7 separate regions of the Homo sapiens genome follow, and all the other regions are linked to region 1. The links are contacts of gene promoters, found by promoter capture Hi-C in blood cells and fetal thymus (Javierre and others, 2016). All regions are on one chromosome and are shown on one strand. Each heading gives the region's core, a stretch centred on a gene start or on the middle of the fragment in contact. The rest is flanking DNA. Distances are from core to core; before and after follow the strand shown.

Region 1 (3,114 bases), core at 438-2,937:
GCATTTGTTATTCTTAGATTGTATTTTTCCACTGGAGGCCTCCAATGAGCTCAGTACCCTCTCCCACCCTCCTCCAGGGGCTGAAATTTGCACTCTAATTCTAAGCCTGAGACTCCTTTCTGCAAGTATCTGAATTGCCCACTTCATAAAGAGATCACTTAATCTAGCCCTTTCAGGAAAAGGAGAAGGCACTTGCCAGCACAAGGTGACTGAGTTATGTATTTCTTGATCTTCTTTAATCTGGGGTCTCTAATCTCCCAAAGATATGGGCATGGGAAATTATGTTAACTGGCTCCCACTGCCCTTTCAGAGGAATTTCTGATTAGGCTCTTTGAGAGATTGTGACTTGATTTCCATTGTTTCTCATTATGTTTCCCTTGACTTCTAGCTCTGAGTTTTTGCTTTAGAACTGCCAATTCCTCTTCCTTACCTGAGCCACCTTCTCTGCACTTCTATCCTCACTTGCTAGGTCTTCCTTGACATCTGAGATGCCAGGTGAGCAGAATACTTACCTCGCTGCACTGCAGATGCCTGGGTCAGAATGCAGGAGACCAAGGCCAGCCACAGGAGGCCAGAGCCCACCATCCTTTCCATAAGGTGAGGCATGCAGGTCACTTTGCTGTATGCAGACTTCCCATGCAGCTATGGGAAAGAAAAGACCAAGATAAGATTAGGGCATAGGTCTATGTTCTTAGAAACAGATCCGTTGACTTCCTTCATAAAGAGCTGCATTGTTTCAAAGTAGGTGTGACTTATGGACAGATAGAGCGAGATAATGGGTGATAAAATTGACAGTAAGCAAACCAAAGGCAAGCTTAGAGCTGGCTAGTACTGCAGAATGTCCTAGAAAGGTCTCAGGATGGTCCCTGCTCAGGTGGAAGTAGAGGCTCTTTGGAGATTGGATAGAGAAAAAGGGATATGGTACCTGTGAATACCTGCACACAAAAGTAATGGCTGCCCTTTCTTAGTTTTATGCATTGGGTGCTGCTAAGAGCCCCCTGAAATGTCCTCTATGGATGTAGATTTCTGTGACTGTGGAACCATGCCAAACCGAGCCTCATGTTCCTTGCTCCTAGTACAGAATCTGGCACACAAGGAGTACTCAGTAGAGGATTAAGGATGAATAAATAAATCAATGGGGGTTGGGGGCGGTGGCGAGGCAGAAAGAAAGAGCTGCAAAAAAGCCTGCCAGCATTTGGATGGCATTTACTTTTCTGGGAAATACTTTCCCTAAATGGCCAAATCTTTGGATAACTTCCTACAACCTCTGGAAGACTTCAGTGGAAAATAGAGATCGGTTTCGGGCAGGGATACCATGAGTATGCTATGAGACAGCAGGGATAGGGAAGCACCCAGGATTGGTGATTCTTAGAGATGAGATCCCAATAGAGACCTAGTTCCCTGGTGGGAATATCTGGGACAAGGAAGAGGGTGGCGTCCGTAGGCCTGGAGCATCGCAGATGACTGGAAGCATGACTGAGTTGGACATAGAGTGGTACCTGGAGCACTTGACAATGGCCAGGGTCCAAACTACTTGCTGGGTTCTAAAAATTTCCAGAAACAAAGAATCCTAGCATGTCCAGTGGATCAAGATTTCCCAGGATTAGGAGGAAGCCTCCTGGGGCTTAAAGCAGGACTTACCTCCGATGAGAACACAAAGCGTTCCTCCTCTGGCCAGCCATGGGAATGCAGCCTGCTGTGGGCCGTCTTTTTATTGCAATTTCCCACCCATGTGTCTCTCCTCAATTGGTGCACAGGTATGATGGGAGTTCTAGGCCATACACTGGGCTTGTTGAGTGGAGGTGAGATAAGCCATTTACGCAAAGGATGGTGAAAGAAGGGCCCTCCCCTCACAATGTCAACCCTTCCAGCTGTCTCAGCATTGTGCGAATGCTTCCTACAAACAATAGTGCTGTGTGCTGAATGCTGAACATGCTGGGCACTGCTTTGCGTTCTTGACTTCTCACATTTAATCTTCATAATTAATCAATGAAACTGGTGCCATATTTATTACCAGAAACCAAACACGAATTGAAAGGAAGCTTAATACCCAAAGGGAAGTGAAGAGAAAATCAAACAGGCACTTGTTTGCACAATGGATTTTCAGTTGTACCTTGTGTTCCTAGCTAATCATCTTGGAACATTTCTGCTTCTGTCTGAAGGCCACTGAGCTTGGGGCCAGTTAGACTAAGAGGACACATAGGAAAGGAAAGAAGGGAGTGTGGATGTTTCGAAAAATTCCATTTATTGGTCCATAGAATCTACCCAACTCCGGATTTCTAATGCTGAGCAGTTTTGGAATGGCTAATTTGGTGATGATGGATTTTGGAATGGCAAAGGACAGACAAAGGTTCTTGGACAAAAGAAGCACCAGAGTAGCCCCTGTAAATCCCTTTTGATATGTAGGCTGCCCTAGAGATTGGAAGGCATGAGACTGAGAAGAGGCTGTAGAGGATCTTGGACTTATTAACTCCAGGCTTGGACCTGGCTTTCATGACATGGTAGAAATCATGGACTTCATAAAAGAGCCAAAGCTTTTGCAGAAAAAATGGCCACTGCTTCTTCTCTGTCACTCTGGGACTCCTTAAGGAGCCAAGGCAACTGGAGTCAAGGGAGCAGGAGGGTCTTGGCATTGGTAACACCTTCTACAAAACCTCAACCTGGAAAAAGAAAAGGTGCTACAAGCCACCTTCTCTACTCCCAGAGCAACTGGAGAATAAATAGTCTCTAAAATGTGGAACTTGTGACAACTGGGCCCACTAAATCACCTACTGATCCATTCAGTCTGGCCAGGTGCCCATCCCAGTCTCCCCAGTGGCCACTCTTAACCTTCCCATTCCTCTTAAATGGTCTCTGCAGCTATTATCACCCACTCACACCACCTTTCTCAGCAGATATCTGGTACCCTACTTCAAAAACAATTTAGGCCACAACACCTGACCTTGCTCCTTCCCCTGTAAACATATAAATACTGGTCTCCATCCTCCACCCCTTCCCCCTCCAACTTCTGATAAGGCGATGTTCCTCCTTTTCAAAGTCAGTTCCTCCATCCCTCTTCTGGCTTCTCCATTCCAATCTGAACCATGTAGCTACAACTTTATAGCCAAATCCACT
Region 2 (3,114 bases), core at 354-2,853, 440 kb before region 1:
ACTGCCTGTCTTGCTGCCTGTGCCCCCAAATGGCGGCTCCTTCCTCCTGGAATCTCCTTCCCTTCCCAACTCAGCTGACCCCTTTCCAGGCTTAGAGCAGGGAGCAGATAGCAAACTGTTCACTCCACAGTCTTAGATACCAAACTGGCCGGGAGGGCTTCCAAACGACAGATGCCAATTTGCATTCTATTTACATGTCATTTGCATGCAGTTTAACTCAAAGCCTGGATCCTCCGCAAGCCCGAGTCCCCACCGAAGAAACTTCTGAATTAAGAAGGTTCCTTGGCTGAAGTGCCGGGGTTTTTGTGCCAGATCCCTCCCCCACTTCTCTTGTCTTTGCGGGGTCCCCCAGGGCTTTCTGGGCTCTGTTCAGGTGCCCCCCGGCCTGGTGCAGTTGGGCGGCCAATGTGGCGCGTGGGCTGGGGCCCCAGGCGGGGACGCCGCTGCCCGCCACACTCCAGGGGCCTTTGTCCGCGCTCCAAGGAGCCGCCCCCTTAGCGAACGGGGGACGGAAAGGGAGGACTGGCTAGGCCTGGGTGTGACAGAGCAAGGACGGAGGAGTGAACCCGCTGCACGGGGGAGATTTCTGGGGCAAGGTCGTTGGCCCCTTCCCAGGCTGTTCAACCGGCTGCCCGGGGCCAAGGCGGGTGCGGGCTCCTCCCGCGCGCTCCCTTTTCGGCCTAAGCGCTAGGGACCCCGGGATGTGTGGGGTCCTTGTGGGGCTGGAAGCCTGTGTCCCCCAAGGAGAGGGGACCGAGAACAGGTCTAGTCCTTATCTCCAGCCTAGCCGCCTCTTCCAGAGGTCCAAGTGCCCCCTGTCTGGAAGGGAAACGCCACTGCCCCCCCCGCCATTGTATGCAGCCGCCCCCTCCTCCCCACCCCTCCCCGTCATTCGTCCCCAGCCCAGGTCTCAGCTCTGCCATCTCCCACCGCCGTGTCCCCCCCTCCCCTTGCTGAGTAATGCGCACTCAAGCCGGCTGCGGGCTTGACCCCCAGCCCCCGCGACAGGTGCGGCTGTTCACCCCCAAAGTCCAGCCCTTGTGCCCCCGGCTGCGTCTGCCCTGTCCACAGTCAGCCCCCAACGCGGCCCCAGGACCAGCCCGCAGCTCCTCACACATGACGAGTCACTAGGACACGGCTGGGCTCCTTTACCCTCCCAGCTGCCCTTCACCTGTGGTCGCCCCCACACCCTCCTGGGAGACTTGGATCTCTACCTGGTCCGGGCACAGTCTCCCTCCCCCCGTAAAGGTCCCCAGATCCTCCCCTCCCCCGCCCACCCCTCTACGGCTCTGCTCTCGTCGCACCGTGGTTCCCCTCGCCCAGATTCCACATCTCCCCCAGCAATAAACTCCCTGGCTTGGGTTGGGGGGGCGCTTAGAAAAACACAAGAAGCGGACCCCCCAATTCTCCCAAATCCACGGCGGGAAAAGTTTCTGGGGTCCCCACAGCGTCCTCCACTGCATCGGCGCAGCTCGCACTTACCGACCCCCGCGGCCCCGCAGCGCCGACGCTCCAGCTGGCCTTCGGCCCGAGTCACATCTCTGCGGCGCGGCCGCGGCCCCCGCTCCACGCACGCCCGCCTGCGGGTCCAGCTTCACTGCAGCGCCTGCCAGAGTCGCTGCCGCGCGAGGCGCCCCCTGGCCCGGCCCGCGCTGCTGCAGCGGCCGCGGCCCCGCCCCCGCCCCCGCCCCCGGCCGGCCCCGCCCCCGGGCCTCCGAGCCCCACCCCCGGTCCCGCCGGCGGTTCCGCGCGGGGCTAGGCGCCGTCTGCATGCACCCCCGGAGCCCAAGCTCGTAGCTTCTAGCCCGGATCTCAGAGACGATTCCCCCGACCTCGTGCCCCCAATTCGGGGACATTCCCCCCACAACGTCAGTGCGCCCGTAAGCAGTCCAGACGAGCCGGGCAACTCCCCAGGGTAGATCCATTTGCGGGAACACTCCCCTAGCCAATACACTTACCGAGGGAGGTATCGCGACCCAGGGGTCCCAGCGCGGAAGCCTTCCTGCCCCCAGGCCACGCTCCAAGGGGGGTTCATAAGCAGTAACTTCCCCGAAACACACCAGCACCAGGTCCAGGACGCAGAGAGGATCGATCCCGCCCGGTGCCTCTCGAAGTCACCAACGCCCCGGTATACACCTAGGCGCACACACACCGCTAGGCCTCCTCCAGGCAGGTTCCTCCTGGACACACTCTTCTCTCTCCTCACTGCCCAACTCCCAGATGTCGTTGTCCGTTTACGCACACTGGGACCAACACCCGCTTCCTTGGCCCCTCGAAACACACACGTCCAGTCGGTGCACCCCTCACGTGGGTCCCTACGCAGGATCGCCACCACCCCTACCGCACACATCACCCACGTACGCACATGTCCACTGCCCTTCAGGGCTCACACACTCAGCGGCCCGGGCCACTGGCCGTGCGCTCCGCAGACGGTCAGGGCACAGCCCGGACGCGTGTCCGCTGGGCGGCCGTGGGACCTGCTTGAAGGAGGGGTCCGGGGCAGCCGTCTCTGAGTCCCCCTCACCCCGTCCTAGTCCTCAGGCCTCTCCGAGGTCGCATTGCTTCGACCAGGCCTGGGAGCTGCGCTCCGGCACCCCATATGGGGCTGGTTCCCTGGGTGACCTTCAGACCATCAAACCCTGGCAGTCTCAGGTGGCCCCCCGCCAAAGCCAGAAACAGACCTTTGAGCAGCATCCCTTCCCTGCACTCCAGATTCTCAGGGTGAGATTTCCTTTCTCCCTCCGCGGTGCGCCCCCCAATCTCTACCCCCGTCGCCGCAACCATCCCAGCCACATAAGACCAAAAGGGATAGGACGGACCCCTGCTCCCCTCTCCCGGGGGCTGCAGGAAGGGGAGATGCAGAACACCTCCTTCTGGGAATAGTGGCAGCCCCTGATCTTTGGGGACCGTGGCCCTTCCAGATACTCCCATCCCTCCCTGCCAGCCTCCCAGTTCCGGTCCGGTTAGGCCACATCCCCCTTGGGCACGCATCTCTGGGATACCTTTTATTATATTCAAGGGAAAATGGAAAGGAAGAACCATAATGGCAGTTTTTCGCCCCACTCCTGGTTTATTTGCATGGATCCTCAGAGCCCAGAACAGTTCCAGGCACAG
Region 3 (3,114 bases), core at 159-2,658, 420 kb before region 1:
AGTGGCATGATCACAGCCCACTGCAGCCTTGAACTCCTGGGCCCAAGCAATCCTCCCACCTCAGCTTCTCGAGTAGCTGGGACTATGAGCACGTGCCACCACACCCAACTAATTTTGTTTTAATTTTTGTAGAGACAGGGTCTCACTGTGTTACCCAGGCTGGTCTCAAATTCCTAGGCTCAAGAGGTCCTCCTGACCTCCCAAAGTGCTAGTATTATAAGCATGAGCCACCATGCCCAGCCTATCGCAGGGATCTTTTAAAGTTGTTCTATGCACTCATACTGTGTTGGGAATACTTATACCAATAAAAAATGTGTTCCATTGCAAGTAAGAGAAGACTCAAATAATAGGAGCTTAAACAATCAAGGCATTTAGCTAATGGGAAGTTTGGAAGTAGAGGGTCAGAGGTTGGGGCAGTGACTCAGTGACTGCGAGGCACTGGGGTGCTATCTCTGTGAAGCCTTGGTTTTTACCTCATGTTTGTAAGATGGCTGCCAAAGCTCCAAGCTTCACATCACGACACAACAGTGTTCAAAAGAGAAAGGGTGGGAAAAGGGAGCAATAACAAACCTCTTCCCCAAGTGGTTCTTAACAGCATGAAGTCTGGGGGATGCCAGGCCTTATAGCAGGGGTTCTTAAACTTAAGTGTGTGTCAGAATCACCAGGGGAGCCTGACATTGGTGGCTGATGCCTGTAATCCCAGCACTTTGGGATGCCCCGGCCGGGGGGATTGCCTGAGCCCAGGAGTTTGAGACCAGCCTGGGCAACATATGGAGATCCTATCTCTACAAAAAAAAAACCCAAAATTAGCCAGCCATGGTGGTTCGAGCCTGTAGTCCCAGCTACTCAGGAGACTGAGGTGGGAGGATCACTTGAACCCAGGAGGTTGAGGCTGCAGTGAGCTGTGATTGCACCACTGCATTCCAGCCTGGGTGACAGAGCCAGACCTTGTATCCAAAAAAAAAAGAAAAAAAAAAAAACACCAAAAAAATGAATCCCTTTGAAAGCTTTATAAATCAGTGCTAAGTCCCACCCCCAGAGTCTCTGAATCAGCAGGTTGAGGTAGGACAGAGGGAGAATCTGCATTTCAGACACGTTCCCAGTGAGCCTGATGCCGATGTGTGGGTCCCTGCACCACGCTCTGAGAAACACTGGCTGATAGCAGTAGGTCTCAGCCCTGGTTGCACATTAAAATCATCTGGGGGAACTTTAGAAAAAAATCCTGATATCCCAGCCACACAAGGGCCCCAGAACATCAGAATTTCTGCAGTTAGGATCCAGGCATTAAAAAAACTAAACCTCTTCCCCCCCACCTCCCCCACTTCCTTTCCCCGCTTCCCCGTGATCCCAGTGTGTAGGCAGGGCTGAGAACGGCTGTCTGAAAGCCTTAAACCCCGAGGTGGTTACCAAACACGCAGTCTTCAGCTCTACTCTGGAATCAGAATGGCTGGGGGCTTCAGATCTTGTGTTTTAAACAAGCATCCCCAGTGCACTGAAATTTGGGAATCACTCTCCAGCCACATGGTAGCTGCCATCCCATAAACCCCAGTGCGCTGGGGGAAATGACGTGAAAGTGATCCAAGCCATCTAATGATACAATTAGTAACAACAGCTAACATGCGCTGAGCCTTGCTGCAAGCTGGAACATTTAGATATCACATCTTCTAGCTCCCAGTATGAACACGAAAGAGGGGTGGAAGTGATTAGCCCCATTTGACAGATGGGATAACTGAGGCCCAGAGACATGAAATGACCTGCCTAAGGTCACTCTGTTGGTCAGTGGCAGAGCCAGGATTCGACCGAGTCTCTCAAGCTTTGAAGCCCACGTCTTTTGTGCCAGGCATGCTGCCTTTTGCTTCTTCTTTGAGGTCTTCTTTGGGAAAGGATGGGGTGAAAATTGGAGAGACTTGCAGGGGAAGTACAAATAATTCGATATCAATGAAGATGTAGCCTGGGTGGCCAGGCCATGGTGGTTGTCGAATCTACAATGAGCAAGATTCATGAGTGCGAGTCATCTTGCCTCTGCCTTCTGGAGCTGGCTCATTGGTATTAATGGATGAATGGGCCTCATTTGGGCAGTTGTAATTAACACGCTGACTACTGAGATGAGCTCAGCCCGAGTCACTCCTGAATGGCATAAAGCATTGCTCAACACGCGGCTCATCCATTACGTTGTTCTGGGTCCCAGGCTCAGGAGTGAGCCGGCCCCAGGCTCAGGGTGGTCAGCAGAAATGAAGGACTATTGGCATTTTCAAATCATCAGCTTAGTTTGAGCACTTAGCATTTCCCTGTCCGGCTTGGCATCGACGGCAGAAGCTTAATTAGTGGGGACCGAAGGAAGGAAGGCACTTAGGAAGTGAGATGAAGTTTGGGTTCATGTCCACACGAGCTGCTCAGAACTCAGTAATCGGGGCTTTGGATCAGACAGACTTGAGGTCAAATCCCTGTTCTGCCCCTTTTTTGGGGGAAATGACAAATGACCTCATCCCTCTGAGTGTCAGTTTCCTTTCCTGTAAAATGCGGATCATTATGGTGCCAGTTTCATTAGGTCATCATGATGGTGAAATAAAATAACAGGCAAACCCCTCAGCACCATCCCTGGCACCACGCCAAGTGCTTAATAAATGCTAGCTCTTATTAGTATTTACCTACACATTTATTTATTTATGAGAGGAACACAGCCCAAAAATATACACAACACTCACTGGGAAGAGGAATCATAAAAATAGGCTTAGAGGATCGATGGGGATGTAAAAGACGGTGGTTCCTGGAGTCTGAGTGTGAGCTTTATTCGAGTTCAGGGCGGTAAGCGTTTCTGCATCAGAGCCTGAGCTGATTGACTCCGAGAGCCTGAGCAAAGTAGAGAGCGTGTTTGAGGCTCTCGCCTGGCACCCGGGGGGTCTGTTTGCAATTTAGGGTGGCACTTTCCATTCTTAGGGTGGCACTTTCCATTCTGGGACCCTCCTTTCTAGTTTGCAGTTGAGGTTGGTAATCTGAAGACTGAATGTTTCCGTGGTTGCCTGGCACGGTGGGGAGGCCAAGAGAGGCTCTGGAAGAAATTCTGATGAGCCATCTGCTGTCCTCACCAAGAGCCACAATAGTAACACCTATCAT
Region 4 (3,114 bases), core at 262-2,761, 400 kb before region 1:
TGGTATTTTTAGTAGAGATGGGGTTTCACCATCTTGGACAGACTGGTCTTGAACTCCTGACCTTGTGATCCACCTGCCTTGGCCTCACAAAGTGCTGGGATTACAGGCGTGAGCCACAGCACCCAGCCTAATCTATTGATTTTCAACTTTGGCCTCCCATTGGAATAACCTGGGAGTTTGAGTTCCAATCTCAGAGATTCTGAATTCAAAGATGGCATGTGAGCTTAGCACCTGGATTTTTCAAAGCTCTTCATGTGATTCTGATATGCACACAGTGGGTGAGAACCACTGCTTTAAAGCAAACCCTTCAAACTTCAATGTTAAAATGCAAATTGTGGTTCAGAACATCTAGGGTGGGCCCCGGGATTCTTGCATTTCTGACAAGCTCCCAGTTGGTGCCAATGCTACTGGTCTGTGGACCTCACTTTGAATAGCAAGATTTAAAGAGAAGACACAAATATGGATTATACAATGGGAAATCTCCTAATTAGGAAGGAAACAAAACACTGTGTCCACTAAACAAGTCTATAGGTTGGACTTCCCTGCAGGTCATTGGTTTAATGGGTGTGTGTGTCTCTTTCTCAATCTCTCTCTCTCTTTTAGATCTCTTTTGTAGGGTTCCTGTTATGGCCAGGATACAGGGGTTTTGTGAGGTCTAAGGCAAGATCCCTCAGTTTCAGAGGCTCAGAACTGGGTTTGTCGGGAGGCGGAGATGGAACAGGAAGGTAGGCAAGCTGTCAGCCTGTTTCGGGACATGATGATCTGGAAAATGCCTCGGAACAGTCTTCCCCACACCACCCCAGGGCAATCTCACCCATAATTGGCATAACTGATTTTCCTGCAGATGAGAAGAGGCTAGACGAGGTCCAGACAGCTCCCCATCACACCCCGGCGTTAGGAGCACGCCTTTCTCCTCTTCCTTTATCGGATCAAAGTCTTCCATCAAGCTGTCTGGTTCTGTCTTATTCAATTAAACTTTTTAATCCAATTTGACCCATGCATTCATCTTCTTTGAAATCTGAGAGACGACAGCATCCGCTACAAATTGAGAGTAAATGGCCGAATTAGCTTTCAGAGAGGATCCAACGAGACTGTTTCTTCCCAGGGACCAACAGGCTCTTTGGAGCAGCTGGATCATAGAGGAACGTGGCTGGGGGCGTGGACGGAGGACAGTGGGGTTGTAATCTCCCTTCACTTTGAGACCCTTGGACAGATGGCATGGCACAGCCACTGACAGCACAGACTCTGGAGCCAGAGAGTCTGGGGTCAGATCCAACTGGGTCATGCCAGGCAAGTGCCTGAAATTCCATGCCTCGGTTTCCCCATATGTAAGATGAGGGTGATAACAACAATACCGACCTCTGAGGGCTATTGACAGGATTAAATTCATCCACACGTCTATGTAAAACACACAGAATAGCACTTGACACGTGATAGCGGCTATATGTAAGTGTTAGTTGGTACCATAATTCCTCTGGAGAGTTAGTTCAGCATTTCTGCATGGTGTGGTGGAGTCACACCACATGCCCATTTAACTTAGTGGGGGTTATACCATGCACGCTTGGGTAATATATCATCACCCAGCCAAGCAATCAAACCAAACAACCCTCCAATAGGTATTTTTTAGGTTGTTTAACTGAAGGATCGACATTCCGTTTTGCTGCTGGAGAAAAAACCTGGCTGGCAGGGGTAGTTACGAAATATTCAGAACCATGCTTACTTTATTGATGAAATAAGGGATTTTTTCAAGGTGAATTTTGGACCGTTTGGCGGGTTTGCCTGAATTATTATTATTATTAGTTTTGAGACAGGGTCTCACTCTTGCCCAGGCTGGAGTGCAGTGGTGCAGTCTCGGCTCACTACCACCTCTGCCTCCTGGGGTTAAGCAATTCACGTGCCTCAGCCTCCCAAATAGCTGGGACTACAGGTGTGTGCCACCATGCCTGGCTAATTTTTGTATTTTTAGTAGAGATGGGGTTTCACCATGTTGCCTAGACTGGTCTCGAACTCCTGAGCTCAGGCAATCCACTCACCTCCACCTCCCAAAGTGCTAGGATTACAGGCATGAGCCACCATGCCCAGCCTGAATTCTTGATTTTGCAATTTTTCTAAAGAATTTGGACTCTACCATGTCCTATTTGATCCTTGTCCAACCTGGTGAGATAGGCGAAGTGTGTTAAAATAACCAGATAGCAGAGCGTGGTAGTTCGGACTGGGAACTTGGGAGTCAGACTGCCTGGGTTCAAATCCCAACTCTGCCACTTACTCTTGGACATTCTATAGACAAATCAACCTCTATGTGTCTTCATTTTCTTATCTGTAAGTAGAGATGATGATTAGCACAATAATAAAATAATAGTACTACCTAGAGCTGTCTCAAGATTAAATGGGTTAGTACACATGAAGTGCTTGGAACAGTACCTAATACATGTTAGTCAAAAGTGATAGCAACAGTCATAAAACAACGACTAGTGCCAAGCCCTGGGCGATGCATTTGGTATGTATTACTGCATTTGAACCTGGTAAGAGCCCTTTTTGAAGAGGTGACAGGATTTGCCGAAGTCCCACAGTCACGACCTCAGCTCCGCAGCTCATGTGTGCCTTTAGCCCTTGGTGGGACCCTGCGAAAGAGTATAAACGGTGCAAACCTTTAAGGTTGTACGCCAGAACTTCAGTTTATTGAGTACCTACTGTGTGCAGGACATTTTGTTAAGTGCATTATCTCATTTAATCTTCACTGTGACTCTATGAGGTAGGTGCTCTCACTAGCCCCATTTTCTTTTCTTTCTTTCTTTCTTTCTTTTTTCTTTTTTTTTTAAGACAGAATCTCGCTCTGTCACCCAGGTTGGAGTGCAGTGGGGCTATCAGAGCTCACTGCAGCCTCTACCTCCTGGGCCCAAGAGCTACTACTGCCTCAGCCTTGTGAGTAGCTAGGAATATAGCAAATGCTACCACACCCAGCTAATTATTATTATTTTTTTTTTTTGTAGAGATGAGGTCTTGCTCTGTTGCCCAGGCTGGTCTCAAACTCCTGGACTCAAGTGGTCCTCCTGCCTCAGCCTCCCAAAGCGCTGGGATTAAAGTGCGAGCCACTGCACTTGGTCCTACTTTCAT
Region 5 (3,114 bases), core at 455-2,954, 380 kb before region 1:
ATCTTTCTCTTCCTTTCCTTTTGTTCTGTTTCACATAAAAGCCTCAGATGTCGGCTGGGCACGGTGGCTCACGACTGTAATCCCAGAACTTTGGGAGGCCGAGGCAGGCAGATCACCTGAGGAGTTCCAGACCAGCCTGGTCCAACATGGTGAAACCCTGCCTCTACTAAATATACAAAAATTAGCCGGGCGTGGTGGCGGGTGCCTGTAATCCCAGCTACTCAGGAGGCTGAGGCAGGAGAATCACTTGAACCCGGGAGCTAGAGGTTGCAGTGAGCCGAGATCGTGCCACTGCACTCCAGCCTGGGTGACAGAGTGAGATCCTGTCTCAAAAAAAAAAAAAAAAAAAAGCCTCAGATGTCATAACAAGGCCTGCCAAGTGGTAGAACAGTTTGGGTGATGTATCTGAATTAAGGTGAAGGAACAACTCTAGTTTCGATCTGGCACACCAATGTCACAGAGAACCATCATGTTAACCCCAAAAGCCATTGAAAGAATCCAGGGTTGCACTCAGAATCCACATGAATGACTCCCTGGGCCTCCCTGTTGTCTTGTTAATTAAACCTGCTTTTTATCCTCCTCAATCGTGCAGATACAAATCCTACTGTGTGAAGGGCATCTGTTTCCAACTTAAGAATGTCTTTTGTTTATTTTATACTTTAGTTGCCAGAACTCATCAGGATTGCTTTTTACCCCTGAAAAAAATTACAAAAATATGGAGGACTTCAGTTGCTTTAGTGCCAAGCTATTGAGAATGACTCTGGGAATTCCATCACCAGATATTCCTACAGGAAGCACTTTGTTTAATTCAAGAGATATTTATGGAGCACTTAGTGAGACACGGTAGAGATGGGGCTTGGTTTCAGCTCACCCCCACTGCAGCATTCTTTCATGCATTCCCGCCCATCACAAAACCCCACCACGACCTCACTACTAAAAATTCCAGGAACTGGCTCTAGGAGAAAACTAAGGTTGTGGAGTGTCCCACCTGGGGAAGGAATGCTGAACAATTTGTTTGCAGCCGTGTTGCTGCAGTCTGGACCACCAGGTGGCCCATGACTCAGGATAACCATTGCAAGGAGATCTGCTGACCTGCATACCCTACCTTCACGTGCTTTGCCCAGCCCAGCCTCCATACTCTACCCCGATGTCAATTCCTGTGCTTTGATTAGTAAAAAAGCCCTACCTGCTCTTTTCAGGGCATCAGTTCAGGGAATTCTCTCTCTTATGCTGCCTCCCTTATGCCCAAGCATAAGTTCCAATGAAGCCTTGTTTGGGAAAACTCTTTTGGAACCATGTCGATTTCTATTGCATTGAGAGCCCAGGAACCTGTGGTTGCTAACATATTCTTTGGGGGCTTGTCTGGGATTACAGGACATGGGGAGTCTTTCTCTCTCTGAGGGGGAGACTTGCAAGCTGATGGGACTGCTGGACAAGATCCCTTTGCGGCTGGCAAACGGCCACCTGAACTTTTGATTCAGTGTCATTGCGATGGGTGAGTCTTTCTCAAGCCTCCCGAACTTCCTCGCCTCCCCACAGCTAGCAATGGTTTTCTCCCTCCCCTTCTTTCTCTTTCTCTCCTTTCCCTTTCCTGTCTTTTCTGTCACTCAGGGTGCTTTACTTCTTGTCTCCTACTTCTTACTGTTTTGGGTAGCCTAAAGCAGTGGTCCCTAACCTTTTTGGCACCAGGGACCAGTTTTGTGGAAGAATATTATTCCATGGACCAGGGTCGGGGGGATGGTTTGGGGATGATTCAAGTGCATTACACTTATTGTGGACTTTATTTCTATTACATTGTAATATATAATGAAATAATTATAAAACTCACAATAACAGAATCAGTGGGAGCCCTGAACTTGTTTTCCTGCAACTAGATGGTCCCATCTGAGAGTAATGGGAGACAGAGACAGATCATCAGGCATTAGAGTCTCATAAGAAGTGCACAACCCAGCCAGGCACGGAGGCTCACACCTGTAATCCCAGCATTTTGGGAGGCCAAGGCAGGTGGATCATGAGGTCAGGAGTTTGAGACCAGCCTGACCAACATGGTGAAACCCTGTCGCTACTAAAAATTCAAAAAAATTAGCTGGGCGTGGTGGCATGCACCTGTAATCCCAGCAACTCAGGAGGCTGAGGCAGGAGAATCGCTTGAACCCAGGAGGTGGAGGTTGCAGTGAGCCGAGATCTGGCCACTGCACTCCAGCCCAGGTGACAGGGCGAGACTCTATCTCAAAAAAAGAAAAAAAAAAGTGCACATCCTAGATCCCTTGCATGTGCAGTTCACAATGGGGTTGTGCTCCTATGAGAATCTGATGCTGTTATTGATCTGATGGTAATGTGAGCAATGGAGCAATGGGGAGCAGCTATAAACACAGGTGAAGCCTCGCTTGCTTGTCCACTGCTCACTTCCGGCTGTGTGGCCCAGTTCCTAACAGGCTATGGACCGGGGTTGGGGACCCCTGGCCTAAAGAGATATCCTTGAGAAACCTTGAAATGGCTTCCCTGTTTTACTTATAGACATCCCTGAGGGATGGATGGAAACAGGTGATATCTGGGTCTGATCAACCCAGCAGGCAGTGAGATGGGCTGCATCCCTCCCCTGGCCTAAGTTGGTTTGGGGTTGAGTCCCAAGAAAATCCCTCTCTCTCTTGTCACTCTCCCTACCTGGCACCTTGGCCCTTGATCCTGTAACTCTATTCAAAACCCCTCATTACTTCACTTTCCTTTGTCACCTCTGATGGAGAAGAGAGGCCTGTCATCTTTCTGGGCATCTGTCTCACGTGTGGTCCTTTAAGTGTGGGGAGAATGCCTGAGACAGGGTGCTGGGGATGCCTGGCTGGTCTTCAGGAAGGCACCAGGGACGCCTAGGGGTGACTGTCAGTATGGGTTTTCTGCACAATAAGAAAAGTTCAGGCTGGCTGTGGTGGCTCACACCTGTAATCCTTGCACTTTGAGAAGCTGAGACAGGTGGATCACCTGAGGTCAGGACTTTAAGACCAGCCTGGCCAACATGGCGAAACCCTGTCTCTACTAAAAATACAAAAATTAGCCATGCATGGTGGTGCATGCCTGTAATCCCAGCTATGTGGGAGGCTGAGGAAGGAGAATTGCTTG
Region 6 (3,114 bases), core at 402-2,901, 350 kb before region 1:
CCCCTCCTGTGGGTTTCCTCACTTCAGTCTGCAGCCCCCACCAGCCCGGTGACCTGGCAGATTAAGGCAGATGAGGGAGGGCAGGCAGAGGAAGGGCCATCCATCACCATTACCAGCCAAGCCTCTTCACAAGACACAGGTATCCTTCAGCAGCACTCAGCAGCAGCAGTAGCCTGGAATGGGAAGACAGCTCATTATGAGTTTATTAATGCACAGTTCGGCGGGGCTGGAAGAGTTTGCTGGGTATCCTGGAGGGTCCAGCCAGGCCATGCTGGCAGCTGGCCCAGCCGTCCTCCTGGGTTTCTGGGAAACTTTGGGAACAGCTTTTGCCCCTCAACCCTGCACTTCCCCAGGTTCTCAACAGGACCTTTATCAATCTGTAGGGGACTCTGGAAGGCCTCACAGTGCTTCTTCAGACAAAGACGACAAAGAGGAAAATTTGCACTTGGAGAAAATATCAGTGGGAGGGGTGGTTTCTGGGTGAATCGCATTTTCCATAGAGCCTGCCATGACACCCTCTCCATTTTCAGAGAAAACGGAGTACTTTCCTGCTTCGCGCCCCACGATACGTGAGCACCTGTATTACTATTTGACTATTTATGAGTTGGTTTCAATTGACTATTTATTTGACTATCTATTTCTTGATTTTGGTTGTTAGTTACACAATACCTGAACTGTTGTCCCTGTAAAAAATGGAAATTACACATATGTATAGAGACCCTTTTTTTCTCCATTCTCATTCCAATACCCCTGTTGTTTATATTATTATCTTATTTTTCTTTTTTCTTTTCATTATTTTTATTTTGTATCTATCGTTGCAGATCATTAGTGGTCGTAGGAGTAATAATAACCATTGTATTAGTCCTGATAATAGCAAACATTCATTGAGAACTTACTTTGCATCAACTTTATATTAGCTCATTTGATCCTCACAATAACCCTATGATGTATATACCATTTGTATTAGTTTGTTTTCATACTCTTATAAAGAACTGCCTGAGACTGGGTAATTTATAAAGGAAAGAGGTTTAATTAATTCACAGTTCAGCATGTCTGGAGAGGCCTCAGGAAACTTACAATCATGGCAGAAGGCAAAGGGGAAGCAAGGCCTTTTCTTCACAAGACAGCAGGAAGGAGAAGTGCTGAGAAAAGGGGGAAGAGCCTCTTACAAAACCAACAAATCTCGTGAGAATTCACTCACTATCAAAAACGCATAGGGAACCCACTCCCATGATTCGGACACCTCCGCCTGGTCTCTCCCTTGACACATGGGGATTACGGGGATTACAAATTATACAAATGTACAATTCAAGATGAGATTTTGGGTGGGGATACAGCCAAACCATACCACCATTATCATTTCCATTTTACAGATGAAGAAACTGAGGCTCAAAACATTTCAGAAATGTTTTCAAGGTCACATAACCAGTAAATGGCATAACTGGAAGTTGGGTCCCAGAAGTCTGAGTCCATAGTTTGTGTCCTTAATCCTCATTGTACAGTTCTCTACCTACTGTACATGTTTATGTATCATTGAAGGTAAATGCTATTTATGTGTGTATGTTCATGCATATGTGTGTGCACAATGGATTTTTTTTTTTTTTTGAGAGAGAGAGTCTTGCTCTTTCACCCAGGCTGGAGTGCAGTGGGTGATCTTGGCTAACTGTAATCTCCGCCCCCCAGGTTCAAGTAATTCTCCTGCCTCAGCCTTCCGAGAAGCTGGGATTACAGGTGAGTACCACCACGACTGGCTAATTTTTTGTATTTTTAGTAGAGATGAGGTTTTACTATGTTGGCCAGCCTGGTCTCAAACTCCTGTCCTCAAGTGATACACCCATCTCGGCCTCCCAAAGAGTTGGGATTATAGGCATGAGCCACTGTGCCTAGCCAAAATTGGTTATTTTTAAATTGTAAATAGTGTCTTATTGAATAGTTGTTTCTCATACAACTATTCAATAAGATACTATTTACAATCAAGCTATTTTTTTCCTAACAAATTCAACCAGCAATGTGTCTTGGAGTTTTTTCCATATCGACAGATACAGACTTATATAGACAGATATAAACTTACTTCATTATTTTTAATGGCTGCTAGATACTTTATGGGATTCATGGCCTGCAAATATAACTGTGTTTTGGTTTTCTTTTTTGGGGTCATTCTCCTGTTGATGGACACATTTGTGTTTCTTTTCTCCTTTATTTTAAACTAAATTTTCCCTTTAAATTGTAAGTAAAAAAATGTACATTTCTTAGTACTTAGGACTTACATTTTGAGGAAGGAGATTGCCATGCACACATTAACCCTGCATCCTTGTGCATGGATTCCGCATTATTTCCTGCAGGCTGTGTACCTTGCTCTCATTTATATGCAAGTCAGATCCTGCACTAGAATGAACAACCTGAGGATACAGACCATGCCCCAGTTATTTCTGTGTCCCCTCCCCTAGTATTGTGCCTGGTATGTCGTAGGGGCTCAGTGAATGTTTGAATGAATCAGTGATTGAATGGTGTATTAGTTATTGCTGGTTAATAAATTTCCACAAGACTCAGTGGCTTAGAAGAATACACATTTATTATTTTACAGTTTCTGTGGCTCAGGGATTCAGGCAGAGCTCATCTGCGCAGGCTGCAGTTAAGGTGTTAGCTGGGGATTTGGTCATCTCAAGGCTCTACTGGGGAAGGATTTGCTTTCCAACTCATGTGGTCATTGGCTGGATTTAGTTCCTTGTGGTTGTTGGAGTGAGGACCTCAGTTCCTCTTGTTTATTGCCACATGGGTCCTTGTCAGAATGTGCAAGTAATAGAGTCTGCTAGCAAGACAGGAATCACATTCTTTTGTAACCCAATGTGGAAACAGCATCCCATCACGTTGGTTGTGTTTTGTTGATTAAAAACAAGTCACAGGTCCCTTGCACACTCAAGAGGAGGGAGTTATACTGGGACTTGAATACCAGGGAGCAGGGATCACTGGGTGCCCTCTTAGAATTCTGTCTACCACAAAAGAATAATTTAAATAATAACATCAAAAAATAATACAGTTGACCCTTAAAGAACATGGGCTTGAACTGTGAAGATTCAAATATGCAGATTTTCTTCTGCTTCTGCTCCCCTAAGA
Region 7 (3,114 bases), core at 332-2,831, 330 kb before region 1:
CATGCTTTCACAGTCCCATGGCTTTGTGCCCACTTTTCCTGGTATTCCCTCTCCCTCCTTGTCAACTGGAGTCCCTCCCTCTTTTGAGCTCCTACTTGCAATTGATTCCCAAGTGTAGACAGCATGGTCAGGAACCTGGGTTTGAATTCCAGTTTGATTTATTGCTAGCTGTGTGGCATCAGGTAAGTTACTCAATCTCTCTGAGCTTTAGTCTCATCTGCAAAGTGGGGCTGATAATGGGACTTGCCTCATAGGGTGCTTTTGTTGTGAAGATTGGGTGAGATGATGCATGTAAATATCACTGCACTGTGGGTGGCCTGTAGTAAATGCTCAGTAAATTTATCGACATTACCACTGGCTGACACCATGAGCAATTTAAGGGAAGACCAGTGGCTTCATCTCTGGACCCCCCAGCACCTAACACAATGCCTGGATTATATCAGTCACTAACTGAGCTTTTGTCTAAATGCTTTTGAATAAAGGTCATGAAGAAAACTAATCTAGGCTGTGTATCAAAATTTATCTATATGAGGATGTCCATTGCAGCATTCATTTGGAGAATAAAATATTGAAAAACCACTGAAAGTCCAGCATGGTACATCCTTACTATGAAATATTTTGCAGCAATCAAAGACAATAATGTCACCCCATAAGTGCTGACACAGAAAAATATCTAAGACATATTCTGTGAAAATTTTGAGTTTGTGCCAGCAGATAGTATGATACCATTTATGTGTGTGTGTGTGTGTGTGTGTGTGTGTGTGTGTGTGTTTGTTTTTTTTTAAGACGGAATCTCGCTCTGTCGCCCAGGCTGGAGTGCAGTGGCGCCATCTTGGCTCACTGCAAGCTCCGCCTCCCGGGTTCACACCATTCTCCTGCCTCAGCCTCCCGAGTAGCTGGGACTACAGGTGCCCACCACCATGCCCGGCTAATTTTTTGTATTTTTTTTAGTAGAGACGGGGTTTCACCGTGGTCTCGATCTCCTGACCTCATGATCCACCTGCCTTGGCCTCCCAAAGTGCAGGGATTACAGGCATGAGCCACCGCGCCTGGCCTGTGTGTGTGTTTAAAGGACATTTACAGGTAGAAAATGTTTAGAAGAATACTGAAGAAACTGTTAACTGTAATTACCTCTGAGAGGGGAAGAGAGAGGAAAAAGAAGGAGTTTTGCTGTTTACTTTATGCCAGGGGCCAGTAAACTACAGCCCTTGGGCCAAACTCAGCTGGCTGCCTGTTTTTGTAAACACAGTTTTATTGGCACACAGCCATGTCCATTTGTTTACATATTGTTTGTGGCTGCTTTTGAGCTTCAAAGGCAGAATTGAGTAGCTACAACAGCCTGCATGGCACAGACCATATGTCCCACAAAGTCTAAAATATTTACTATTTGGCCCTTTACAGAAAAGGTTTGATGATCTCTCTTTATCCCTTTCTGTACTATTTAATTAAAAAAAATGGGACATAGTATTTAAATTGTTTTGTTTGCAAGTTAATGTGACCTTATTTTGTAGTAACAGGATGCTGAAGCCACGGACTACCATATCCATTATCTGTTGCCACAATAATGCTGTAAAAAAAATATTACTCCAAAACTCAGTGGCTTGAAACAACCACCATTTATGGATCATTAGGGTGGTTCTTCTGGCCTCTGCTGGGCTTGTTTACATATCTGTGGGTTGTGTAGGAGGTTCTGCTGATTTTGGCTGGGCTCTCTCACATGTTGGCCTTGGCTGGGACAACTGGGCTGGTGTCCGTTGGTCTCTCATCCTCCTGCAGGGTGGCTCAGGCTGTCCTCAAGGTGACGGCAGTGTTCTGACAGTGAATGGGAGAGCAGGTCTCTTTAGGCGTAACCTTGAGACTCACACACCCTCACTTCTACTCTAGTTGGCCAGCACAAGTCACAAGCCCAGGCCAGATCGAGGGATGGGGAAAGAGTCTACCTTTTGATGGCAGTAGTTGCAAAGCCAGATCGTAAAAGATAGTGTATTAGTCTGTTTTCATGCTGCTGATGAAGGCATACTTGGACTGGGTAATTTATAAAGAAAAAGAGGTTTAATGGACTCACTGGAGAAGCCTCACAATCATGGCAGAAGACAAAAGGGACATCTTACATGGCAGCAGGCAAAAGAGAATGAGAGCCAAGTGAAAGGGGAAATGTCTTATAAAACCATCAGATCTTGAAAGACTTATTCACTACCAGGGGAACAGTATGGGTGACACTGCTCCCGTGATTCAGTGATCTCCCACCGAGCCCCTCCCACAACATGTGGGAATTATGGGAGCTACAATTCAAGATGAGATTTGGGTGGGGACACATCCAAATCATATCAAATAGGAACACCAGAAGGGGTGGAGAATTGAGGACAGTTTTGTAACCAATCAACTGCAATGACTCCCTTACCCTGACAGAGCACTGTCACCTACAGGCTGTCTAGTGAGCTTCCAAATCACCCTTTAATGGTAGGTAGTCCAGTGCCCTTACCCCTATTATAGAGGTAGCTGAGGAAGCTGAGATCTAAAGAGACTTGCTCCAAATTGCTCCATGGGGCAGGCTTAGACTTGAATGTGAACCCAAATCTCCTGACTCCTAGCACAGGGCTCTTCCCCAGGCTCCTGGCTGCTGAGCTTTCTTGGTCCCTTTTTTTTTTTTTTTTTTTTTTCTGTTTCACATGGGCCCTGGGAGAACAGTGAGCTTCTCTTATTCATTTTTGTATTCCTAGTGCCTGGCGCTGACCATGTGTTCAGTTGACACATGGGACAGTCTGGGACTATTTTTTCAAAAGGCACAATGAATGGCAGTATATTGAATATGGAACACTTCCATTTTTGGCCACTCACCAAGCAAACTACTTTCTGTATCTGAGGAATTTCCCATCTTATGGGCCCCAGGTGGGTGATTAAGGCTTCACCAGTCACAAAACAAAACTCTCTTGGACCCCCACCCAAAAAGACAGGGTCTGGAGGGTTCTCTGTTGGGGTGGGGGCCTCACTGGTCCAATCCTGTGGTGTGAGTTTTGGGATTGTTCCTGTCCTCAAATCTCTAGACTTGGTTCTCCAGCCTTTCTGCCAACCACTTAATATCCTTTAATTAATTCCTTTTTCAGGAAATTACCC

Evidence for each region. The method cuts DNA at HindIII sites, captures the fragments that hold promoters and counts their contacts. A CHiCAGO score of 5 or more calls a contact.
Region 2: the fragment with the promoter of GPRC5B here is called in contact with the fragment with the promoter of GP2 in region 1 in 3 of 17 cell types (M0 macrophages, M1 macrophages and M2 macrophages); the score reaches 7.9 in M0 macrophages.
Region 3: a contact is called between a fragment that was not itself captured here and the fragment with the promoter of GP2 in region 1, in 6 of 17 cell types (M0 macrophages, M2 macrophages, M1 macrophages and 3 more). The highest score is 14.4, in M0 macrophages.
Region 4: a fragment that was not itself captured here is called in contact with the fragment with the promoter of GP2 in region 1 in 5 of 17 cell types (M1 macrophages, M2 macrophages, endothelial precursors and 2 more); the score reaches 12.4 in M1 macrophages.
Region 5: a contact is called between a fragment that was not itself captured here and the fragment with the promoter of GP2 in region 1, in 1 of 17 cell types (M1 macrophages). The highest score is 6.1, in M1 macrophages.
Region 6: a fragment that was not itself captured here is called in contact with the fragment with the promoter of GP2 in region 1 in 4 of 17 cell types (endothelial precursors, M1 macrophages, M0 macrophages and 1 more); the score reaches 7.0 in endothelial precursors.
Region 7: a fragment that was not itself captured here is called in contact with the fragment with the promoter of GP2 in region 1 in 4 of 17 cell types (M2 macrophages, M1 macrophages, endothelial precursors and 1 more); the score reaches 8.8 in M2 macrophages.

What each region holds. Positions count from the first base shown.
Region 1 is chr16:20,325,826-20,328,939 of GRCh38, forward strand. It overlaps GP2 (glycoprotein 2), which reads right to left and starts at 1,688. Exons shown (of 11, transcript NM_001502.4): 1 at 1,642-1,688; 2 at 513-642. The coding sequence starts at 606. The HindIII fragment of the contact is 1,228 bases long and covers 813-2,040 here.
Region 2 is chr16:19,883,245-19,886,358 of GRCh38, forward strand. GPRC5B (G protein-coupled receptor class C group 5 member B) reads right to left here and starts at 1,604. Exons shown (of 4, transcript NM_016235.3): 1 at 1,483-1,604. RefSeq lists an enhancer at 1-347 and a silencer at 1,863-2,157. The HindIII fragment of the contact is 5,537 bases long and covers 1-3,114 here.
Region 3 is chr16:19,910,905-19,914,018 of GRCh38, forward strand. No RefSeq gene overlaps it. Among named protein-coding and RNA genes, the nearest start is that of GPRC5B, 28 kb to the left of the region's middle. The HindIII fragment of the contact is 806 bases long and covers 1,006-1,811 here.
Region 4 is chr16:19,928,284-19,931,397 of GRCh38, forward strand. It overlaps LOC105371116 (a long non-coding RNA gene), which reads left to right. Exons shown (of 3, transcript XR_950894.2): 2 at 604-725; 3 at 845-946. Among named protein-coding and RNA genes, the nearest start is that of GPRC5B, 45 kb to the left of the region's middle. The HindIII fragment of the contact is 8,332 bases long and covers 1-3,114 here.
Region 5 is chr16:19,947,855-19,950,968 of GRCh38, forward strand. No RefSeq gene overlaps it. Among named protein-coding and RNA genes, the nearest start is that of GPRC5B, 65 kb to the left of the region's middle. The HindIII fragment of the contact is 5,122 bases long and covers 1-3,114 here.
Region 6 is chr16:19,974,686-19,977,799 of GRCh38, forward strand. LOC105371117 (a long non-coding RNA gene) reads left to right here and starts at 1,684. Exons shown (of 4, transcript XR_950895.2): 1 at 1,684-1,731. The HindIII fragment of the contact is 7,054 bases long and covers 1-3,114 here.
Region 7 is chr16:19,996,237-19,999,350 of GRCh38, forward strand. No RefSeq gene overlaps it. Among named protein-coding and RNA genes, the nearest start is that of GPR139, 76 kb to the right of the region's middle. The HindIII fragment of the contact is 7,996 bases long and covers 1-3,114 here.